Regions from separate parts of the Homo sapiens genome. Here regions 1, 3 and 4 are each linked to region 2. Evidence: promoter capture Hi-C in 16 types of primary human blood cells and fetal thymus (Javierre and others, 2016). All regions are on one chromosome and are shown on one strand. Each heading gives the region's core, a stretch centred on a gene start or on the middle of the fragment in contact. The rest is flanking DNA. Distances are from core to core; before and after follow the strand shown. Region 1 has its middle 7.2 kb from the start of LINC00528. Region 2 holds the start of MICAL3 (microtubule associated monooxygenase, calponin and LIM domain containing 3). Region 3 overlaps MICAL3 (microtubule associated monooxygenase, calponin and LIM domain containing 3). Region 4 overlaps MICAL3 (microtubule associated monooxygenase, calponin and LIM domain containing 3).

Region 1 (5,200 bases), core at 562-3,061, 240 kb before region 2:
GAAGCTCTGGGAGGCTGGCATGACTCAGCTGTTGCAGAAAGACCAGTCTGGGGTTTCCCATATTGCTTCAAGCAGCCTTTTCCCTGGGACTGCTCTATCTAATGCCAACAACCCTCAGCTGCTAGTGAGCCCTCGCCACCAACTTTCAGAGGGCTAACTCCTAAGGCCCAAGGGCTGGAAAACTCCAAGCACAGCCCTCCCAGAGTCTGGCTGTGGCTCAGAATGGGTGCTGGGGCAGGGCGAGCAGGATTTCCCAGAGGGAGCTGGGCCCTCTGGCGTCCGCCCCAGGGCTGGCCCAGCCCAGGGACCCCCATGATATCCTTCCTCTCACCCTGCCCTTTCTGAAGTGAACTCTTTGGATATTGGCCAAATCACACCCAGCAGAGGGAAGGGAGTGGAGGTCCCGGTGTGGGGGTCCCGGCGTGGGGTGGCTGTGCCCAGCTGGAATGTTTTGCATGGTGATTTGTTAGAGGGATATTGAGCAGAGGGCAAACCACCACTGTGTCTAGCATTCTGCTCAAAGGTGCAGAAACCAAGACTGCCACGTGCAGAGTGAACGGCCCAGGCTGTGGCCCCCCGGGGAGGGGCTGAGTCTCAGCACTGCAGCCTTATGCTGTGCGCAGTTCAGACCTGCGATAGGCGAGAGGCCAGCAGACACACGCCTCGCCTTACGTGACGTTTCTGCCATCTTCATTCCTGTGTTCGCTTCTGTACCAAATCTCCCCCACACACGATCTGACCCCGTGGCATCCTTCCTTTCCTACAAACTGCACTGAGACCCAGGTGTCATCGTGAAGTTCATGCCAGCCAGAGGAGCCACTGTGGCGTTTCCGGCCATAGGCCTGGGCAGGAGCCGCTCCCAGGCGTGCCGTGGGCAGGGCCGGGTCAGCCTTCAGGGAAGAGATGCCTGTATGGGACCAACTCAGGCAGCCACAGAGGGATGGCCCAGCACCCCACAAAACCCAAAGTGCTCAGCGTCTAGGATCTGTTTACGGGGCAGAGAAGTGGATGTTCTTTTCCTGGTTCAAAGGTAGAAACAGGCTTGGAGAGCCGCACCCGGCATCAGCCAGCCAGGCAGACGCCTGGTCTAGCGCTTGGTTCTCACAGGCATGTGGCCTCCAGTAAAAGATCTTCCTGGAGAGAGGGATGAAGGCTCTTGGGATCATCTTTAGAGGTGCTGATGGAGAAGCGGGGGGGGGGGGCCTTCAGGTGGGTGTGTATCCCTTTATCTAGAATGCTTGGGACCAGAGGTGTTTCAATTTTTCAGATTTTGGAATCTTTGCCGACATGATGCTCAAAGGAAATCCTGCATTAGGGAGTCTTAGCCTGTATCTCCGCTGGCGTGGAGGAAAAGGACAGGAAAGTTTTGAATGGCGGATCCACCCAGGGGACTTCCCTGGATGGGGCGCTGCCACCCCTGGGCCCTGTGTGGGAAAGCTTCAGTACTACACGGTGCCACCGGCTCCCAGCCCCAGCTGAGCTCACCGTCCAGCTCTCAAAGCCAAGGGCAATTCTTTGGCACCTGAAAATGCATCTAAAACTATGACGTTTATAGCTGCCTTAGCCCTACTTAATCTCTATTTCTCTACACCAAATCTCTCTACTGCATGTGCTTACGCCTACGTGCTCTGCTGCCATGGTGCCTTGCCAAGAGCGTGGCTGTGCTTTAGTTCTCCCCGGGGCCTTGGAGGACTCTCCAGGGAGGAGGAAAGGATGGTGCTAGGGGGAGGAGGCTGGGGGTGGACCTTGTTCTGATGCCCCTTGTCTCATGCACGAAGTTCTTCACCCTCCTCCAAACCTTGACCTGGTGGGAGCAGAGACTACCCCCTCCCTGGGGCCAGGGATAGGATGCTCATGCCTGGGAAGGCCAGCAAGCCTTCCCCGCTTACTCAAGGCTCTGCAGGGTTCTGGGGGCCGGTGCTGTCTTTGGTGCCATCCGATTGCTTCTGCTTGTGGGCCTCACCCTAGGGCTGTTCACCAAAGTCCTTCTTATCACAATCCTGGCTTGAAATAAGTGGGTTTCCAATTTTTTATCCCTGATCTTGCCTGGATCTTGATTCTGAGACTCCTCCCATCCCACCCTCTCCAACAGCAGAGACCCCTCCCATTAGCTGCACGCGATTGCTCCGAGATAACAAAGCATTGGCAGATGCTGGTGGAGCAGGCCTGCCCTTGACGTGGGCAAGAAGCTTGGGGAAAAAGACAATTTCCTGCTTGTCTTTTCTTGTCAAAATACATGGCCACACCAGGGGAAGGACAGGAAGAATTCTCTTACCAGCCAGCAGCGGCAACTTAGCAGCTACAGACACAGAGCGCAGGGGACGGGCGGGAATGACTGGCCATGGAGGAGCCGAGAGAGTCGGGACCTGCAGGAGCTGCCTGCTGAGGCGGTCTGGCTGGGCAGGTGGTCCCTGTGCTGGGGCCTCCGGGTGGAAGGCATCCCAGCCCCCCGAGGGAACAAGTTTGGTCCGAGATACATTTTTGAAAGGTATTTAATTCTCTAAAAACATTTTTAAAAGAAGTGAGACCCACTGGGGAAAGGGAGCTGCTGGCTGCCAGGTGCCTCTCTCTCCTTTTCTCCCGAGAAAGACCTGGCAGCCACTCTGCCGGGGAGACAACCGGGGGCTAGAGGGGCAGGCCCTGGGCCGGGCGCAGTGGCTCACGCCTGTAATCCCAGCACTCTGGGAGGCTGAGGTGGGCGGATCACCTGAGGTCGGGAGTTCGAGATCAGCCTGACCAACATGGAGAAACCGCATCTCTACTAAAAATACAAAATTAGCCGGGCATGGTGGCGTGTGCCTGTAATCCCAGCTACTCAGGAGGCTGAGGCAGGAGAATCACTTGAACTTGGGAGGCGGAGGTTGTGGTGAGCCGAGATCGCGCCATTGCACTCCAGCCTGGGCAACAAGAGCAAAACTCTGTCTCAAAAAAAAAAAAAAGAAAAAAGAAAAAAGAAAAGAAAGGCAGGCCCTGGACACTCATGGGGGCTGACCACTGAGAGGCTCCTCTCGCCTGCTGGGCCGGGTGCCTGTGGGTTGAGCAGCCCCTCAACGCTGACACTCCAGCACCCATCTGGACAAATCCCTCATCCTTGACGATGGCCTTGTGAAGACCCAGGGACCCGTGGCCTGTCCCTGGAGCTGCTGCTGGGACACCAGCTCTGACCTGCTGCCTGGGTGGAGGGGTGGCTGGGGCAATGGGGCCGGCTGAACCCTCTGGGAACACGGACTCCACGGGGGCCCAGCAAGTTCGTGAAACAGGGAGGCTGGCCTCGAGCTGCAGGGGGCTGCCTCCCGAGTCCTCCTAGGGTTCTCCCATCAGGAGGCATCTGTGCATCTACACGGGGCCCGACTCCGGAACCTCCAGCCTTCCCACGTGCTCCCCCATCCTAAGTTGGTCAGCAGTCCCAAGTCGGTGGGAGGAATGCGAGGCGCCGGCCGGGTGAGTGCTGTGACCAGGCTGACGTCGGGGGAAGAGACAGGAACACATCCCGCCAGGACACCGAGCTGGTGCTCACCTAACTTGTGCTCCCTGCCGCCCTCTTGTGGGTGGGCAGACACCAGCAGCTTCAGTCAGTCTCGTGTCACACAGCTGCGCGAGGTAGCTCCACACGCACCTACGCGTCTGGAGGATGCTATCCCTGGCTACTTTGGGGACCACTCAATACTGGCAGCCTCACCACGGTTCAGGTGTTGACTGTCCAGGGAGGCCCTCAGCCCCATCCACCTAGTCCTGAGCCACCCCACCCTGGCCCCACCCTGGGCCCCACGGCTGGAAACAGCCTGCTCCAGTACTGGATGTGCACTCTGTGGCTCGGACGCCGCGGGGGCATGAAAAGGGGCTGTGTGTGCAGCACAGGGACTGTCTTCCTCCTCCGTCCTGGCAGTAGGTGGCTTCTCTGGCAGTGTGGCTGTGGCACATGTGGCCTACCCACAGCAACTGGACTCCTCTGCCTTCCCCGGCAAAGCCCCCGCTGCAGGAAGACCTTGGGGCAGGGGGCACACGAAGAGGCTGCTGAAAAAGCTCCTGGTGAAGCTGAGCAGCCACAGGCTGTTGGGAGGGCCACGGGCCTGGTCTCATAGGCTCCTGTGCTGTGTGCGGCAGGAGGCTCCGGCCCCCGGCCAGTGTTTGGGTGGTATGGCCTCACCCTCCTCACTGGGCATCACTGGGGAGGTCATCCGAGCAGGGGACACGAAGAGGGGAGGGTCTAGCACGTGGGCCAGTGTGGCCAGCTTATAAAATGGAATAAAATGGCATGTCTTGTCCCTTCATTTTTGGCTGATTCTTAAGATGGGACTATGTGAGGATTCAGGGTTCAGGAGGGACTTTGGAGCTGTTAAAGATGTGGTGGTTCATGAAAGAAGAGCTTCTTGTTTTTTGTTTTAAAATAGTTTTTAAAATTTAAAAATGATAGAGCCTATACTTTTTTTTTTTTTTTTTTGACAGAGTCTCACTGTCACCCAGGGTGCAGTGGCACAATCTTGGCTCACTGCAACCTCCACCTCCCAGGTTCAAGCAATTCTCTTGCCTCAGGCTCTCCAGTGTGCCACCACACCCAGCTAATTTTTGTATTTTTAGTAGAGACGTGGTTTCGCCATATTGGCCAGGCTGGTCTTGAACTCCTGACCTCAGGTGACCCTCATGCCTCGGTCTCCAGAAGTGCTGGGATTACAGGCGTGCGCCACGGCGTGTGGCCTTTTTGTGTGCTTCTGACAGTGGCTCTGGCCTGGCCCAGCAGCCTTCCTTTCTGGTGTCCTCCCTAAAGCAATACTTATCATTTCCTGCCACCTGAGGTGGCTGTGAACTGCAGCCCAAGGCTGCCTGGTGCAGCTCTGACAAGCAAGCCCTTCTGAGGAACAAGAGCCTGGGGGTCAGGTGACTACCAAGCCCCATTTCCTTTCCCAACAGGCAAGTGACCCAGCTCTCCTTGTACGGGATGTCCTCTAGGGCCACAGGATATGCACTTTGAGCTGCTCATCCATTTTTGTCCTCTGTTCTACCTGACACGCCCACATTTGTCCCAGCCAGGCCTTTCTTTGTTCTGGAATAGCTGGGAACGCAGCTGGAAGGACTGGGAGCCAGCTTCCACTGAGTGGCTTCTAGCTGCCTGTAGGCGGTGTGGCTCACGTGCACAGAGCTGCTGCGGTCTTTCCCTCCCTGCATGGCGCCCCTGGATGGTCACAGGGTCAGCCGTGCTCCC
Region 2 (5,267 bases), core at 1,442-3,941:
GACTGAGCCGTGCCCAAGAGTTTCAGAAGATATGGTACCATCATTTATACCTATCTCGCAGGAGATCTTAACCCCTTCTCTACTTAACCCAAATGAAAGCGAGGTCATTAGGAAGCTGTGCCTGGTGAAGTTCTGGCACCAGGTGGGTAGATCACATTTTCTAGTTTATGTAAAATTTTAACATTTCAGACCCCCAGTTTTAAGACCTTATCTAATTTCCTTGAGCCCCTTAGTCATTGTGAACTCGCTGTGGAGTGTCTGCCTCCACCTGCCTTGGTGTTTATGAACATTCATGGTAACTTTAGAAGGCAAGGGTTAGAGGAAACTTTTTGCCGCCCACCCCCAGTCTGCAACAGTACCTGTGGGGAAGATTTTACCCTGGGACTCCAATTTTCAGGGAGAGGAAGTTTCTAGGATTTCCCATAGGCTTACGAGGGACTCGCCATGTGGAAGGATTTTAGGCCTGAGAAGGATAATAACACTTTATAATTTCTAGGTGATCTTATTTGTTGCCTCTTCCTTCTCCAGAGTGACTACTGCATTCCGACCTGCACCCCCACCCTTTTTTTTTTCTTTTGAGACAGAGTCTTACTCTGTCACCCAGGCTGGAGTGCAGTGGTGTGATCTTGGCTCACTGCAACCTCCACCTCCCTGGCTCAAGCTATTCTCATGCCTCAGCCTCCCGAGTAGCTGGGACTACAGGCATGCACCACCACACCTGGTTAATTTTTGTATTTTTAGTAGAGACTGAGTTTCACTATGTTGGCCAGGCTGGTCTCCAACTCCTGGCCCCAAGTGATCTGCCTACCTCGGGCTCCCAAAGTGCTGGGATTACAGGCCTGAGCCTCTGCGCCCAGCCCCCTCTTCTGCTTTCTAAGTGTCCATTCTCCTTGTAGTGAGTGGGTGGTGGGGGGATATACACATGTGACTCTGGTTAGTACATAGGCAGCCATGAAGTCCACAAATGTACAGGGAGCCACAGCTTTCATGCTACAGACTTGCAAAGGTATGCATCTGCTTTCCCCTTGCCCTGGAATATAGATCAGAACACTTCATTTAGTGAAGGGACCTGTTCCGAGAGTGATGATCCCTCCCTCGTTTGAGACACTGCCTTCATCCTGAGCTTCTTGGAGCAGCCCAAGGCCCTGCCAGCTCTCTTTGCCTGTAGCTTGTAGGCATTTATGACAGTTGCATACCCTGCCCTCCAACGGCAGCCTGAGAGACTGAACTATTACCAAGTTCACCTGGAAAAATGTCACCCTGATTGATTAGAATGGTGGGTGGCCATCTTAGCTCATTAGAATCACCTGGGAAGTTAAAAAAAAAAAATCCAGTATGCACTCCAAATTTTCCCACCACCACTCCTCCCCACAAAAAGAAAATTTAAAAAATCCCAGTGTTTGGGCCATATCCCAGACCAATTAAGTCAGAATCTCCAGGGATTGGACCCAGGTAGCAGGATTTCTAAAAATCTCCCCAGCAGCCAGGCCTGAGAGCTAATGAATAGCACCACAGGGCCCAGCCTTTCAGCCTACAGCTTGTCTCGGTTTCACCCTTTTTTCATTTCTTTACAATGAAAATTCTAAATAGTTGATCACAGTGCCAGACCAATAAGAAAGCATTTTAGGGAGGAGAGAGGAGGGAAGGGGTTGGCAGGCACGGAGAGGACTTGACACACAGAAAGCATTTTGCTATGGAGTCATAACCATTTGATTCTAAGACACATGCAGCCTCCAGAAGTCATGCGGCCCCGCCCTCTGCTTCCAGGAGGGAATGAACTTGGCCGTCCTTTTGTTGCACACGCCCGGGAGCTGCGCCGGCGCAGCGCGCCCTGCAGCCTGGGAGCGCAAGCGTGTGCGCCACTGGTCCTGGGCCACCACCGCGCGCCGCGGGCGGGTGCAGGGCCCCTCTGCCGCAGGGAAACCGGCGTTCCCCGCGCAAAGCAGCCGCTGCTCCTAATGAGCTCATGGGTTCACCGCGCTGAGCTAGCCAGAGCGGACCCGGCTTCGCCAAGGGCCTGCTGGCTGTCCTGACACCTGGCCTACCTCGGGGGTGCCTGGGTACGCTCTTCCTTTGCCTGCGGGATAGAAGCACAATGAAAATGGGGTGGACGTGGCTGGGAGACAGCCCTGCTCTCTGGCAGGCTCTGGGGAGTGTGTGGTACGTGGCATCCGCACTGGTGGGTGTCGTGCGATGATCGAGACACGGATACTGGGTGTCTTTCCCACTAGGGGAGAGAGGGCTGCGTTTAGAGGGAAACGAAATAGATCCGAGAAACACAAAGATGTCACAAAGGAAACGCTTCCCCACCATAAGCAATCTAAATAAATGATTCTTAGAAGACATCCAGCAAAACACATAACCTTGTCATTTAGATTCGCTCGCCCACAGGGGGACTGGAGGGTACTCACCGACTAGGGCTTCACAGCCGCATCACCGCCGGCGGTGGGCGCCTGCCTCGGCAGGGGCAGGGTGGGTGCCCGCAGGGCACAGGTGCCGCCGTGGCTGCTCGCACAACCCCTGCAGCTGCGATCCCGCCCAGTTAGCCTCGGGGGCTGCACAGCCCAGCCCCCTCGCCCAGGGCCCAGGGGTTCTCAGGCCGCGCGGCGAGGACGGAGGGCTGCCCCGGGTGCCTGCCTACGCGGGCGCTCCCCGCCGGGACTCCGCCGGGGCTGCAGGAGCGCGCGCTGCTGGCTGGGCGGGCTGCGGCTCCGCGCGAGCGCCGTGGCAACGCGAGCGGGCGCCCCCAGGAGGCCGCGGAGCTGCGGCGTGGGACGCTTGGGTGAGGCTCAAGCCAAAACCAAACCCAAACCATTTCTCCTCCTCCCCATCTTTTCATTTTCTCCCCTTCTTTTCATTTTCTCCCCTTCTCCAACCCCTTCCTCGACACACGTTACTAGCACCTCGAAGGTTGGAAATTCCAGCACTCTCCTGAGGCCTCTTCCCCAGCGAATCCTGCTAACCACGCAGTCGGTGTTCGCTGTGTGTTCGAGCACACACCTCCTTGCAGTGGCTTCAGCACCCAGGTCTCCGGGAGCCAGTGAAGGAACCAAGTGTTGGATACTGAGCAAGTCGCGTAACATCTGAGTAGTCGTGAAATTGAAATTTCAACGGTATAAAGGACACGACGTTGTCTTACAGATTGAAAAATGCTATAAAATGAAGTTCTTACTGTTACTATGATGATGACCCTGGAGATCAGCGCAGAGCCCTGGGGGAGGGCTACAGTTGCAAGCGCTCCAAGGATCAGATCGCGCACTCCTCCCCACCGGAGAAAACCTCTTGATGCCGGAGCCCGGGCAGCCTCTTCCACACTTCCAGCCAGCCCCTTCCACACTTCCAGCCAGCCCCGGCATTGCCACAGCCCGTGGAGCTGGACAGAAATCCACCAGGCACTAAAATAAGTTAGATGGAAGACGGGATGGATTTGACCAAATTCCTATCAGCATCTGCTCAGTATAATTGCAACATTATAATCAGAGCAGAAAGAAGCCCAGAGATTATTTTGTCTTCAAGGATCATTGGCCTCAGTATTATCTCCATCTGAAGCTGTGTTGTCCAAAGCAGATTGACTCCAGCCGGCCAGCTCAGAAGAGGGCCGACTCTGGGCTGGCGACTCCTTGAGAAGGGCTCTCTCTGGTCCCAGGTGGTATTTACTTAACCGTATCATCATCTGCTTCATTCGTGTTCCCTTCATGTCCATCATGTGAGGACGGGAACTGACAGGGCCAGGGTGTCGGCTCAGAGGCAATCTCTGCTCATCCTCTAGAGCCCCACTTCATCACCCAGCCACTCTGTCCACTGTCTCCCCACCTACAAACCTGCAGGTGTTCTGCCCCAGTACTAGAATAAGGGAACACATTTTTACTGAGCTCTGACAATGTGACTGGGCTTTTCAGGAGCTATTTCATTTAATTTTTAATGTAAAACATTGTTTTACATATTAAGAACCTAAAAGCACAAACAGTAAGTAACTTGCTTGTGGAAGCTTATGCAGCGAGATAAGTGGTAAAGCTGCAATTCCCAGTTTTGTTTGATGCCACAGCTGAAGGTGCAAGGCCATCTGGGCACGGCCTGAGTGGATATTAGGGAAAAATGCCCTAAAAGGTCCAGAATCTCTAATAATTTCTCCTACTTCTCATTTTATTTTATTTTTGACGCTGGAGTTTTTTTTTTTTTTTTGAGTCAGGATCTTGCTCTATTGCCCAGGCTGGAGGGCAGTGGTGCAATTTCAGCTCACTGCAACCTCTGCCTCCCAAGTTCAAGCGATTCTCCTGCCTCAGCCTCCTGCATAGCTGGGACTACAGGCATGCACCACCATACCCAGCTAATTTTTGTGGAGATGGGGTTTTGCCACATGGCCCAGGCTGGTCTCAAACTCCTGAGCTCAAGCGATCTGCCCTCATCAGCCTCCCAAAGTGCTGGGATAACAGGCATGAGCCACTGCACTAGGCGAAAACGTTTATTTTAGAAAAACTGAAAAATATAGAAACATAAAGGAAGAAAAGCATTCATAATCTCATCACCTAGAGAAAGCCATTAGTAATATTCATATTTCTTTCCAGTCTTTTTTCTAGCTTTCTAGCTTTAAACTAAGTTGAGATAAAACCACACACACACACACACAGACACACAAGTGCATCCTGCTTTTTGTTAAAAATAACTTTGTGGGAAATTCTTCCTCCTTTGAGGATTTTTAAAAAACATTAATTTAAATGTCATACAATATTTTTATCATATGAATATCTCATAATTTCCCTTTTATTGAATATTTCCAACTTTTATTGATTGTAAATAATGGCAATAAAATTTTTTCTTCATAAATCTTGCTCCTATGTGTGAATAATTTCCTTCCAGGTGAGTCCCAGAAGTGGAATATTGAGTCCAAGGGTATTAACATTTTAAAGACTTTCCAATCCTCTCCAATGGGGATATCCAACTCACCCAGCCCCGTTCCCCACAGGACCTGCACGGTCCCACTCCACTGCCCTCCACACATCTGTTGTGCCCTCACCTGGTATATAGCATTTAAATTATTTAGCTCACAAACTCTTTGGGAAACTAGGGTTAGTTCTTTGTAGCTTTTTGGTTGATTATTTTGATTTACTCAGAAAAACGCAGTATCTCCTTTACTATTTTAAAATCCTCAATAAGTAAGAATAGGGAGAGAAAATAAGAGAAAGGGGTGAGCTTTCCAAGGCCCTGGGTTAAGCCAGGGATGCCGGAGCTTGGAGCTCACTTGATACTGACCCTGCTGATGGCCTCAG
Region 3 (5,554 bases), core at 1,233-3,732, 220 kb before region 2:
GGAAAAGCGTCTGTTAATTGGAATGTAAGCACCGGCCCTTCTGCAGCACCAGTGGTCGTTGAGTGTGGAGGTCTCTGAACACACCAGAAGCCCTGGGACACTGAGGGAGTCTCCAAGGGCGTGGGTCCGTGGGAGCGTGGGACTGGAGAACACAGGAAGCACAGACAGCAACAGTCTCTCTTCCCAGGGAGGTGAGAGCCCCGCCTTGGACGTGGCACTGTCTGATAGGTGGAATCACAGAACTATGACATTGGTTTTTAAATGAATGGGCCAAGAAGTGACCCTCTTAAAGGAATGGGGTCAGGGTAAAACACGAGACAATTATCTTTGCCATTCTTCTGTTTGAAGACCACCTCTAGGCATGGAGCCTCCACGGGGAGATGAAGGGGGTAGACTGCCAGATCAAGGACACACGGACAGGGAGGAGGAGCCACAGTCCCCAGGATTCCCCTCAACAGAATGACAGCTGCCCAGGAGAAAAGCTGCCTGAAGCTTAGAAATGAGACATGGGGGTCAGCCATTCCTCTGAACTAACACAAATGGCAAGATGCCAAACATACTGCAACCTCTAAGCTAGTGGTTCTCCTGCTCTAGAGGGCATCAGAACCCACTGGAAGGTCTGTTACAGCAGATAACCAGGCCTCACCCCAGAGTTTCTGATTCTGCAGGTCTGGGGCAGGGCCTGAGGCTGTGCCTTCCTAACAGGCTCCTAGGTGATGTTGCTGCTGGTCCAGGGACCACACTTTGAGAACCACGGCCTGGAGCTTTTCCTGTCTTCACTGAAAAGAAGTACAAAGTGAGCCCCAGGACAGAGCAAGGAGGGAGGGACGTTGTTATGGGCACCCGTCAACCTGGCTTTGAGTTTGGTGACTCCGGGCAGAAATCACTACAGAGAAGCCTTTCCCTCGCACTCAGCTCTTCTGGGAGAAACGAGACCACGACCCAGTGAAAATGGTCGGGCTGAGATCTTGGCATGTTTGCTTCTTTGCGTAAGTGTGGCAGGCAGTGAGCTCCCTAGCAGATATGATTCCTACAAGCAGTGAGGGATGAGATTCAGGGCAAAAGCTGTGTTGGAGTGTGTGTATTTAGGGGACCAGGACGCAGATGCAAGGCTGGTGGAGTCGGGTGGGCAAAGTTTTATTATAAAAAATTAAAAACGACCCCAGGCAGCAAAAGCAAGCTCAGATCTTCCTCTGGAGCACATGTGGGCAGCGGGGAGATCAGCACGCTGCTCTGTTTTGAGCTGGAAAAGGGTCTGTGCTTTTGCCATTTGGTTATTGGGTTGATTTCTCCTTGTTTTTGTGAGCAGGGACTGGGAAGCGTGGGTGGAGAAAGGGCGTCAGCGGGGTTAGTGTCAGCACAGGCGCTGCCATACATACCACCCAGATGCAAGTCGATGAGGTCACTGTAATAAGACTCTCCCCAATAGTCTACAACAAGGAATCGGTGAAGAGAGAGTTATTCCATCAGGTAGTCCTCCTGTCCCCCCATACCCAATCAATGATATGATATGGAGCAATCAATGATATGGAGCGCAAGAAACACAGACACAGCGAGGCGGCAGAGGAACGGCTGGAAGGCATGCGTGCCTAAGTGCATCACATACTGCATGTCCACACATGCCGTATCTGCATACTGCGTGGCTGCGGGAGGAGGGCGGTAACTAAAACTCACTGTGGGGAGTCAATGGTCACTATCAACATGATCCCACGTACACCAGGGATCAGCCAGGACAGAGGCTTTGGCTTTGCTGGGAACTCCTGCCCCTGGGACTGAACCTTCTCTAACTAAGAGTTAATAGAGCGGGGCTGCCTGCGTGTCAGTTGCTGATACTGGAAGCCCCAGGCTGAGGGCCTGGAGGCAGGAGGCAAACGTCCTACAGAAGCTCTGAAATCCTTAGGTTTCGTGCAGTCAGTGCTCTCCCAGGAATTCCCACGACCCCACTGCTGACTCTATCAAATGCCTTGCAGACCCACTTTTGCCGAATGGGTTTGAGAGAAAGGGGATCCTGTTTCGAGGCTTAGGCCTCCAAATTCAGTCGGCCTTCTTAACAACAGGAAACGAGCAGAGACTCATGCAGAGTTCTTCCCCCAGGCACTCGGCCGAAGGCTCCTGGAGGTGTGCTGGCCTGGGGCACTCCTAGCCTGGTAGTTCCACAGCTGTCTGGCCAAGAGCGCTATGTAATTTCCACGCCTGAGATGCAGACTGGGCACTGCCGAGAGGCTGGGCTTGAGCAGGCGGTCCTCATCTCCCCAGAATCATAAAGACACACAGAGCACAGCACTCGGCCGCCATGGTGTTGCCCTCTCTCCAAACCCCGCATTCTGAATGCAGATCCTCACAGCCTCCGGTCCCACCTGAGGGCCTCCCCTTGAGAGTGACACAGCAGACACAGTGGTAGAATGCGGTCCTGCCCCAGTTTTTCAATGCATGCTCAAGGCTGAGTCAGTGTTTTTGTAACAAAAAGGCTTCCCAGGTGCCCCAGGACTGGAAATTACCTAAGTTGTGGCCTGGCCCTAGGATCAAAGGTGCTGAAGCTAATCCTTGCAGCCTGGCCATACGTCGTCATACCTTAGACAAACGGAGAACGGGATGGCAGGTCCATGCTAGAGCGCTTCTCTGGAAAGGCAGCTTGGCTAACAAAGTCTGACGCCCTCAGACGGTGATGGAAGCTGGAGACCCCCAAGTGAGATGATGGCAGGTTCCAGCCAGTTTACTACAGTCCCCAGGGAAGGGCAGACTGCCATGATGAGAAGACTCCAGATTATTATCATGCCCAGCTGCCACTGCCTTCTTCAGGGCTCAGCCAGGTGCCACAAGACTAAGAAGAGGAACGGGACGCAGAAGCAGGAGAGAAAGCAGCAGCAGCACGCACACCTGGGCTTCAGAGACGGCATCGGCCAAGGAGGGGCAGGGCCACGGGGAACTGTGATGGGAGACCAGCTTGGAAGGGATGTATTCACGTAAGAGAAGGAACATATTTGGAAATTCTTATATTCTTATGGTAGGAACCATAATTCCTGAAAATTCCAGAGAGTTTCTCAAATGCATCACAACGAAATATCCCAACAGAGCTACTAAGGCCCATCTTGAAAAACAGAACAGAAACATCTTTGGATAGAGATATCTGCTGAAGACTCATCTAAAGGAAGGAGTTTGCACTACGACAGTGGTTTTCAAGCCTCTGTGGAACCCTAAGGTTCTTCCAAAGGCATTCCAAGGGGTCTCCCAAATACCTGATGTACAAATACTTGTAGCTCTTTCAAGAGCCCTTATTAAAATAAGACACACCACCTTCAAATGTTTTTGTTTTTGAGACAGAGTTTCGCTCTTGTTGCCCAGGTTGGACTGCAATGGCGTGATCTCGGCTCACCGCAACCTCCACCTCCCAGGTTCAAGCGATTCTCCTGCCTCAGCCTCCCGAGTAGCTGGGATTACAGGCATGTACCACCATGCCAGGCTAATTTTTTGTATTTTTAGTAGAGACAGGGTTTCTCCATGTTGGTCAGGCTGGTCTCAAACTCCCGGCCTCAGGTGATCCGCCCACCTCGGCCTCCCAAAGTGTTGGGATTACAGGCGTGAGCCACCGCGCCCGGCCCAAATGTTTTATATGCCAACTTTTCACCCACTGGAGACCATCAACCCAATAATTTGTGCTGCCAGGTGAGCTTGATTTTGTGGAGCCCTCAGGATCAAGTTTCCGCCTCTCTCTGTGTGTAAGTGGCTGAACTCCCTGTAAATGTGTTAGTGAAGAGGACATTTTATTCATTTGTTTATTTAAATTCTGGCCTGCAGCATAGTGCTCACCTGCCACCGTTCAGGGTCTGTCCGGGAGAGCTACAGCTCACTGACAGCACGCACGCCTGTCAGCGAGTCCCTTTATGTAGGTGGGTAACACGTTTTGCTGCGGTATTACAGCATGGCTGGGTTTTTGTTTACTTTGTTTGGGAGCCTCTTGTTTGAGACTTGCTTGTCATGAGGAATAGGAACTGCTGTTAGATTTGCTGTGATCCAACTGTGGAAAAAAAAAAAAAAAAGCTCTTGCCTCATTTTAAACTTCTAGTGTCTACATCATTTAAACTGCAGAAATCCTGAGATTTCCAAGTAAGCTGTTAAAAAAACCAAAAACCAACCAAATAAAAAAAACCATGTTGTCACTTATAGCAACTACAGTTCTTGTGTGTACTGGCTGGATGCCGGGGCTTGGTCATGTCCACCACTCTCTGCTATAACCTGTGTTTTCAAATCTGTGTTAATTATTAACATTTGAGAGTAATTCTTTTTGATTTTAAACTTGAACTTATCATCTTGTGAAAAGAGGTCTGCTGCTAGTTTTTTGAAAACCACTGACTTAGACGGCATTTGGGTTGTGTATGTTTGAGGAAATGTGATTATCTAATGACTAGAAGAAATAATTCTGGCAAAACCCTAACGCCAATCTTCAGTGGTATATTATTTTCCGGCCCTTTGGCAGAAGCTTGAATAACAGGGCCCGTGACAGGGGCGTCGAAGCACTGTTTTACACTCAGACTTCACGGAGGCCACAGGCGCTCAAGTGCTTTACGGAAACCACCAACCTTGATGGCACCACCACCTCAACCTCATGAGTAAGGAGGGCAGGGAGCTGTCTTCTTCCTGAAGGGCTTAAACCATGAAATGCGGTTATTCTGTCTGTGTGTTGAGATCTAATCCACTGCTTTCCATCTTGGCAGAAGTGATTTGTGGAGAAGGGCAAGAAGGAATGAAGATGAGCCTAGGCTCTCTCCTGATATCTTCTGCAAGAAGAGAAATGGCACGAGGGCAGGGCCCCATAGGCCCGGACGCAGTCGGGCACAGGTGGGCTGGGGCCAACTCCATCTGGGCTCAGGCTTAACTGAGGAGGCCAAATCAGAGTGCGCAGAGCAGGGCAGGGGGGCAGGGGCACCGCAGGTTCGCTGGGAAACCTCAGACCTTCTTAGGTGAACCCAAATCTCCTTGCTGTGCTTGTCTCACAGTAACACATCCCAGTCGTCTCAGCCTATCGGATGCTAAGTGCTTCAAGTTTTTGCATTTCCTTTGGTAGCCTGGACTTCATGCATTAACAGCATCAGGTGAGCCCAAACCAAGAACATCCACATCCTCACCTTTCTCCCCATCCCATCTCTTTGACTGAAGGTCATCACTGAGTAGCCCTATAAGCTGCAATTTCCAGGCCTTAAAGGGCCTGGGAAAGGAGACCTACTTCCATTCTGGACTCCCTCACTCCCCACCACACAAACTTCAGTCCTACAGGCCACAGGAATTCATCTTGACACCAGGCACTTCCCATGAGCCCATGGGTCAGTCTTTGAGCAAGATCAGATGGCAGCAGCTGGCCCTGCTCCTGGCCGCCTCCTCCCAGTTCGTCCATTTCACAGAGAGCCTGCCTGTCAGCAGAGGCACCCTGCTCCCCTCTGCCACACTAGAGTGAGGAAGTAAGAGGATACTCCTTTTCTTCATCCCCAGCTCACAATTTAAACGCTGAACCTGCAGGCTATAAAGAGACGGAAGTTCCCCCATCCAGAGACTAGACGAA
Region 4 (5,523 bases), core at 2,637-5,136, 180 kb before region 2:
GCATCACCTGGGAACTTTTGAGAACTAAAAATTCTGGGGCTTTACCCCAGAGGCGCTGAATCAGAAACTCAGCCCAACGTGTTGTGCTTTCATCACAAGCCCTGGGTGACTCTGGCATGGGAAAGCTTGGTTACCAACATTCTCGGACAGGGTGAGCTTGAGCCAAACCCAAGTCCCGGCATCAACCCCGTTTAAGGAAACCAATACAAGGCTGCCTGGCCCTGCCCCTGGCCCTGTGGTGAGGGAGACCTGTGCTGTACCAGGAGAGTAACAGGAGCAGTAACTCCGGGCATCAAGGCTTCGTCCGTGCTTTATACGACTTAATCCTCAAAACAAACCTATGAAGTGCAGCACCTTTGCAGATGAGGAAACTGAAGCAGGGAGAGGTTAAGTAAATTGCCAACAGCTAGCAGGTGGCAGAACTGGGCTTCAAATCCAGGCTTTGTTTGACTCCAAAGTCAGGTTCTGAAACATCACGCTGCTGTCCCCTGCAGCAGAGGCCAAAGTTAAGAGTTCACTGAACTTGTGAAATGAGAGTTCCTTGGCTGGAACGGTTAATGCCTTAAAATGATGCCATTTCTCATCTTCCAGTCTAACATCTCAGCAAGGAAGGACCGACGGCTGGAAAGGCACCCAATTCTGTGCTTGGTGCTGTAGGGAAGACAGAGAAAAACACCACGCACTTCCCGTCCTGTGTCCTACGGCCACCCAGGGAAGTAAGACAACATTTATAGCTCCTTCCCCTAGATGCTTTTTTTTTTTTTTTTTTTTTTTTGAGACAGGGTCTTGCTCTGTCTCACAGGCTGGATTGCAATGGCATGATCCTGGCTCACTGTAACTTCTGCCTCCCTGGTTCAAGTGGTTCTCCTGCCTCAGCCTCCTGAGTAGTTGGGATTACAGGCAGGTCCGGATAATTTTCATATTTTTTGTAGAGACGGGGTTTCATCATGTTACTGCTGCTCTCAAACTCCTGGGCTCAGGTGATCTGCCTGCTTTGGCCTCCCGGAGTACTGGGATTACAGGCATGAGCTACCGCACCAGGCCGGGCTCTTCATTTTTTTTTTTTTTTTTGAGACGAAGTCTCCCTCTGTTGCCCAGGCTGGAGTGCAGTGGCACAATCTGGCTGACGGCAACCTCTGCCTCCTGGGTTCAAGCGATTCTCCTGCCTCAGCCTCCTGAGTAGCTGGGATTACAGGTGCGTGCCACCACACCTGGCAAGTTTTTGTATTTTTAGTAGAGACAGGGTTTCACCATGTTGGCCAGGCTGGTCTTGAACTCCTGACTTCAAGTGATCTGCCTACCCCAGCCTCCCAAAGTGCTGGGATTACAGGCATGAGCCACCACACCTAGCTGGGCTCTTCCCTTTTTTTTTTTTTTTTAAGATGCAGTTTCGCTCTTGTTGCCTAGGCTGGAGTTTGATGGCACGATCTTGGCTCACTGCAACCTCTGCCTTCTGGGTTCCAGTGATTCTCCTGCCTCAGCCTCCCGAGTAACTGGGATTACAGGCGACCGCCACCATGCCCGGCTAATTTTTTGTATTTTTAGTAAAGATGGGGTTTCACCATGTTGGCCAGGCTGGTCTCGAACTTTTGGCCTCAAGTGATCCGCCCACCTCAGCCTCCCAAAGCGTTGGGATTACAGGCGTGAGCCACCGCACCCGGCTCTTCACTTTTAAGAGACTGTTTTTCATTCTGTATAGCACTGAATGCTACTTTTAATTATCTTTTTTTTTTTTTTTTTTTTTTTGAGACGGAGTCTCACCATCTCCCAGGCTGGAGTGTACTGGTGTGATCTCAGATCACTGCAACCTCCGCCTCCCAGGTTCAAGTGATTCTCCTGTGTGAGCCACCGTGCCTGGCCTTTATTTTATTTTTTGATTTTAATTTTAATTTTTTTTGAGATGGAGTCTCATTCTGTCACACAGGCTGGAGTGCAGTGGTGCAGTGGCATGATCTCGGCTCGCTGCAACCTCCGCCTCCCAGGTTCAAGCAATTCTCATGCCTTACCCTCCCAAGTAGCTGGGATTACAGGTGTGCACCACCATGCCCAGCTAATTTTTGTATTTTTAGTAGAGACAGGGTTTCATTATGTTGGCCAGGCTGGTCTTGAACTCCTGACCTTAAGTGATGTGCCCACCTTGGCCTCCCAAAGTGCTGGGATTACAGGCATGAGCCACTGCGCCCAGCATGAATGCTAGTTTTAAAATCTTTTTTTAACTTCAATCTGAGTAAGATGAGGCATGTATTGCATTGCATAGATGCTGACTGATTTCATGTTTTCTGTGCTGCCCTCCTGTCATACCTGCCATAAATGCCAGGGGTTAGCCTTCCTGGAATGTCCTTGCTACATTACATGAACTTGCTGCCCCACTGCCTCTCACAATTTATAAATTACAGTGGAGAAAATGGTGCTGACCCACACTCAGCCCAAGGTCAAGCCAGTAGCTCTGCTCAAGGGTTTATAAATGTGTTTTGACACACAGCATCTCTCACCCTCACTGCAGGGTCAGTGGAGAGAGAGAGTGGGCTCCCCCTCATCTGGGCACAGTGGGGAGAGTGGGGCCTCCATGGGTGCTCTGGATAGGGAAGCAGAGTTCTGGATGAGGATGCACCATCAGTGACAGCTTTGGAACTGCAGACACCAAGGCAGAGGCTGCCCCCGGCATGCACGGAGGAGCGGTCTGTGAGGCAGCCCAAGAATGAATCTAGGCAGAGGGTGTCTGACATGAGGGCTGAGGTGGCGGGTGCAGCTGAAAGCAGCTCGGCCCAGCAAACACCTTCTGGAAAGCGTTCTTGGACCTTAAAAAAACTGCTCTGCTCTCCTTATCCCCACATGTTCCCTTCATCATGGCTAAATCAAGGTGTGTGATTCAAATGCTCTCCAAGGCCACTTGAGGCCTCTGCCCCTCGGGTTTGCAGCCTGTGTTTCTGTCCTGAAGCCCCACAGGACACCGGACCCCCTTTTGATTCTTGGCTCTCTTGATCATCTGTAATCGGCTGAACACTTTGAAGCCTTCGCTGATACTGGAAGCCCTGGGGTGCAGGGCAGTGGATATAGGGAGTCCTAGGGTTATAGCATGCACATCCCCAAAGGTGTCACCCAGCTGGATGTGATTACAGCTCTGGAACTGCCTAAGCATGCATCCACTGGTGCTGCATGCGGCCCCTGGGGCACACATTTTCAGTCCCTTTCTTTACCTACAGGAGAAAAAAAGATGCCTGGGGGACGGACTAGGCCTCCCTCAAGACGGCCCGGTGCACTGGTGGCTGAATCACCCAGAGTCCCTCCCCGTGTGCCCGTCCTTCCCTCTGCTGAATCTGTGAATAACCCGGGGGCAGAGCCTGCCACTTTCCTTCCCAATGACAGACTTGGAGCTGGGGACATGTCAGGTCCTCAAGGAATAAATACTTCCTGAATCTCTGAATTGAGTCTGATGGAGGAGTCCTCACTGACTAGAAGATGAGGCTAAGAACCTAAAAGGGACTGGGGAGAATGGACTGCGGGCAGCAGGAAAGACAGGAGGCCTCCCTTCACTGAGAAGAAACCGAGACACACAGAGGTGAGGAGGCTCTTAGGGCCGTGTGGCGGGTGGGCGCCCTGCAGCCCTGCGTGCTGACCTGCTGGCGACGTCCTCCTCGGCGCCCGTGTCCAGCACGCTGCTCAGGTTGTGCTCGGCCTGAGTCTCCTCCGGTACCTCCTGCAGTGCCTCAGCCTGCCTCAGGGACAGGCGGTAGTTCTCCAGCTCGATCCGCTCTGGGGTGCCCCTCAGTCGCTTGGCGATGCTGGGCTCCTCCAGGCCGTTCACGCCTGAACCTGCGGGACAAGCACAGAAGCACTGCACTGAGGTCCAACCACAGACGGGGCGTGGGGGTGGGGGCTGACACCCAGGCTGCAGGCCCTCCTGCCAGAATGTGGGGCAGGACAAAGGTCAGAGCATTTGCAGAGTTGCCAGAGGCCAGAGAAGGACCCTGGCATGTGAGAGGGAATTTCACTCTGCAGGAGAAAGGAAGGTGGCCCTGTCTGCCCTCCAGGTCAGAGCGTTCTCTCTCCTTCATCACCCTGAACCCGGCCCCCAGAGGGGAGACGCAGTCTCCCCACAAGAGTGACTGGTGGTGAGGGGTGTGGGCCAGACCGCAGGCAGCCAGGAGCCAGGTGCCCCTGAAGCAGCCTTGCCTGAGAAGGGCATCCCCGGTGCAGTCTGCCCCAGGGATCCAGGCCCCCACCAGGTGCCTCCCCCAATGCCTGCCCCGGGATCCAAGTCCCCACCAGGCACGTGCCCCACCACTGAGGGGGCCTGGCCAGCTGCCTGAAGAACGTCTCATGCTGCGGATCTGTCTCCTCACAGTTAGATAAGGCACTTTCGGTTTCATAAGGCCACGTGGGCGATGCTGCCCCTACCGCAGCACCGCTGCTCAGAGGAAGGACACCAGGCCCGACCGCTCACAGAGGTGGCACCCAGGCCTCTCTGCGATGCACAGGCACACTTCCCCATCAGTCCTCCGTGGGCTTCTGAAGCCACGGGGTGCCCTGCCTGCGTCCTTTCACCCTGTGGTTTCAGCATCGTCGGCGATCTTGGCCGGAGTCCTTTGTGTGCACAGGGCGTCACACCAGGTGATTTTAAAATCCCATCACTCTGGCTGGGTGCGGTGGCTCACGCCTGTAATCCCAGCACTTGGGGAGGCCGATGCAGGTGGATCACGAGGTCAGCAGATCAAGGCCATCCTGGCTAACACAGTGAGACCCCATCTCTACTAAAAATACAAAAAATTAACCAGGCACGGTGGCGGGCGCCTGTAGTCCCAGCTACTCGGGAGGCTGAAGCAGGAGAATGGTGTGAACCTGGGAGGCGGAGCTTGCAGTGAACCGAGATTGCGCCACTGCACTCCAGCCTGGGTGACAAAGCGAGACTTCATCTCAAAAAAAAAAAAAAAAAAAAAAATCCCATCACTCCTCCTCCACTACCATTCTTTGGTAAAGAAGCACTTTTCCCATTTTTAACTTTATACTTTCAAGTACTGCTATGGACTCGGATTTTTGAAAATGTGTTTTACAACTGTGCTTTGGTCTCCTTTAACATGGAACAGTTCTGCTGCCTCCCTTATCATCACCACTATTCTCTGTTGACGTCCCTTGTCCTCCTGATCCTGGTCAGAGGAGGCTGTCATGAGTCCTCTGGTGTGTCCCCTGTAATGTGAGTAGCACCGGGTCCAGGTGGAGGCGGGCAACCCCAGGTCAGATTTCCTCATCTTCCAGATGCCTGGCTCCACCAGTAGTTGGCTGAAGGGTCTTAGAAAATTTACAGAACTCCTCAGAGCTCGTTTCCTGATAGATAAATGATGGCACCACCCACCTCCCAGAGCCGTCATGGACACCGAGTGACACGATGCACACATACTCATGTGGGGGTGCGTGTTGACCCTGCACCCCACACACACGGTCACCTTCCTCTTCCACTTAACGCCTGCCACCTGGGGAGTGCCCAGGAAACATGAGTGAAGCAGCAAGTCTGGTGTCCAGTAATAT

What was found. The method cuts DNA at HindIII sites, captures the fragments that hold promoters and counts their contacts. A CHiCAGO score of 5 or more calls a contact.
Region 1: a fragment that was not itself captured here is called in contact with the fragment with the promoter of MICAL3 in region 2 in 5 of 17 cell types (erythroblasts, megakaryocytes, naive CD4 T cells and 2 more); the score reaches 8.2 in erythroblasts.
Region 3: a contact is called between a fragment that was not itself captured here and the fragment with the promoter of MICAL3 in region 2, in 13 of 17 cell types (erythroblasts, total B cells, megakaryocytes and 10 more). The highest score is 9.2, in erythroblasts.
Region 4: a contact is called between a fragment that was not itself captured here and the fragment with the promoter of MICAL3 in region 2, in 15 of 17 cell types (naive CD8 T cells, naive CD4 T cells, megakaryocytes and 12 more). The highest score is 17.6, in naive CD8 T cells.

What each region holds. Positions count from the first base shown.
Region 1 is chr22:17,781,862-17,787,061 of GRCh38, forward strand. No RefSeq gene overlaps it. Among named protein-coding and RNA genes, the nearest start is that of LINC00528, 7.2 kb to the left of the region's middle. RefSeq lists enhancers at 1-332, 1-143, 3,050-5,200, 3,392-3,501, 4,752-4,801. The HindIII fragment of the contact is 752 bases long and covers 1,436-2,187 here.
Region 2 is chr22:18,021,870-18,027,136 of GRCh38, forward strand. It overlaps MICAL3 (microtubule associated monooxygenase, calponin and LIM domain containing 3), which reads right to left and starts at 2,692. Exons shown (of 32, transcript NM_015241.3): 1 at 2,412-2,692. RefSeq lists a silencer at 2,420-2,829. The HindIII fragment of the contact is 4,064 bases long and covers 1-3,986 here.
Region 3 is chr22:17,802,432-17,807,985 of GRCh38, forward strand. The region is part of intron 29 of MICAL3 (microtubule associated monooxygenase, calponin and LIM domain containing 3); the gene reads right to left. Among named protein-coding and RNA genes, the nearest start is that of LINC00528, 28 kb to the left of the region's middle. RefSeq lists enhancers at 1,347-2,546, 1,541-2,381, 2,382-3,220. The HindIII fragment of the contact is 3,985 bases long and covers 491-4,475 here.
Region 4 is chr22:17,838,205-17,843,727 of GRCh38, forward strand. MICAL3 (microtubule associated monooxygenase, calponin and LIM domain containing 3) reads right to left here. Exons shown (of 32, transcript NM_015241.3): 20 at 3,618-3,813. Among named protein-coding and RNA genes, the nearest start is that of LINC00528, 64 kb to the left of the region's middle. The HindIII fragment of the contact is 7,527 bases long and covers 124-5,523 here.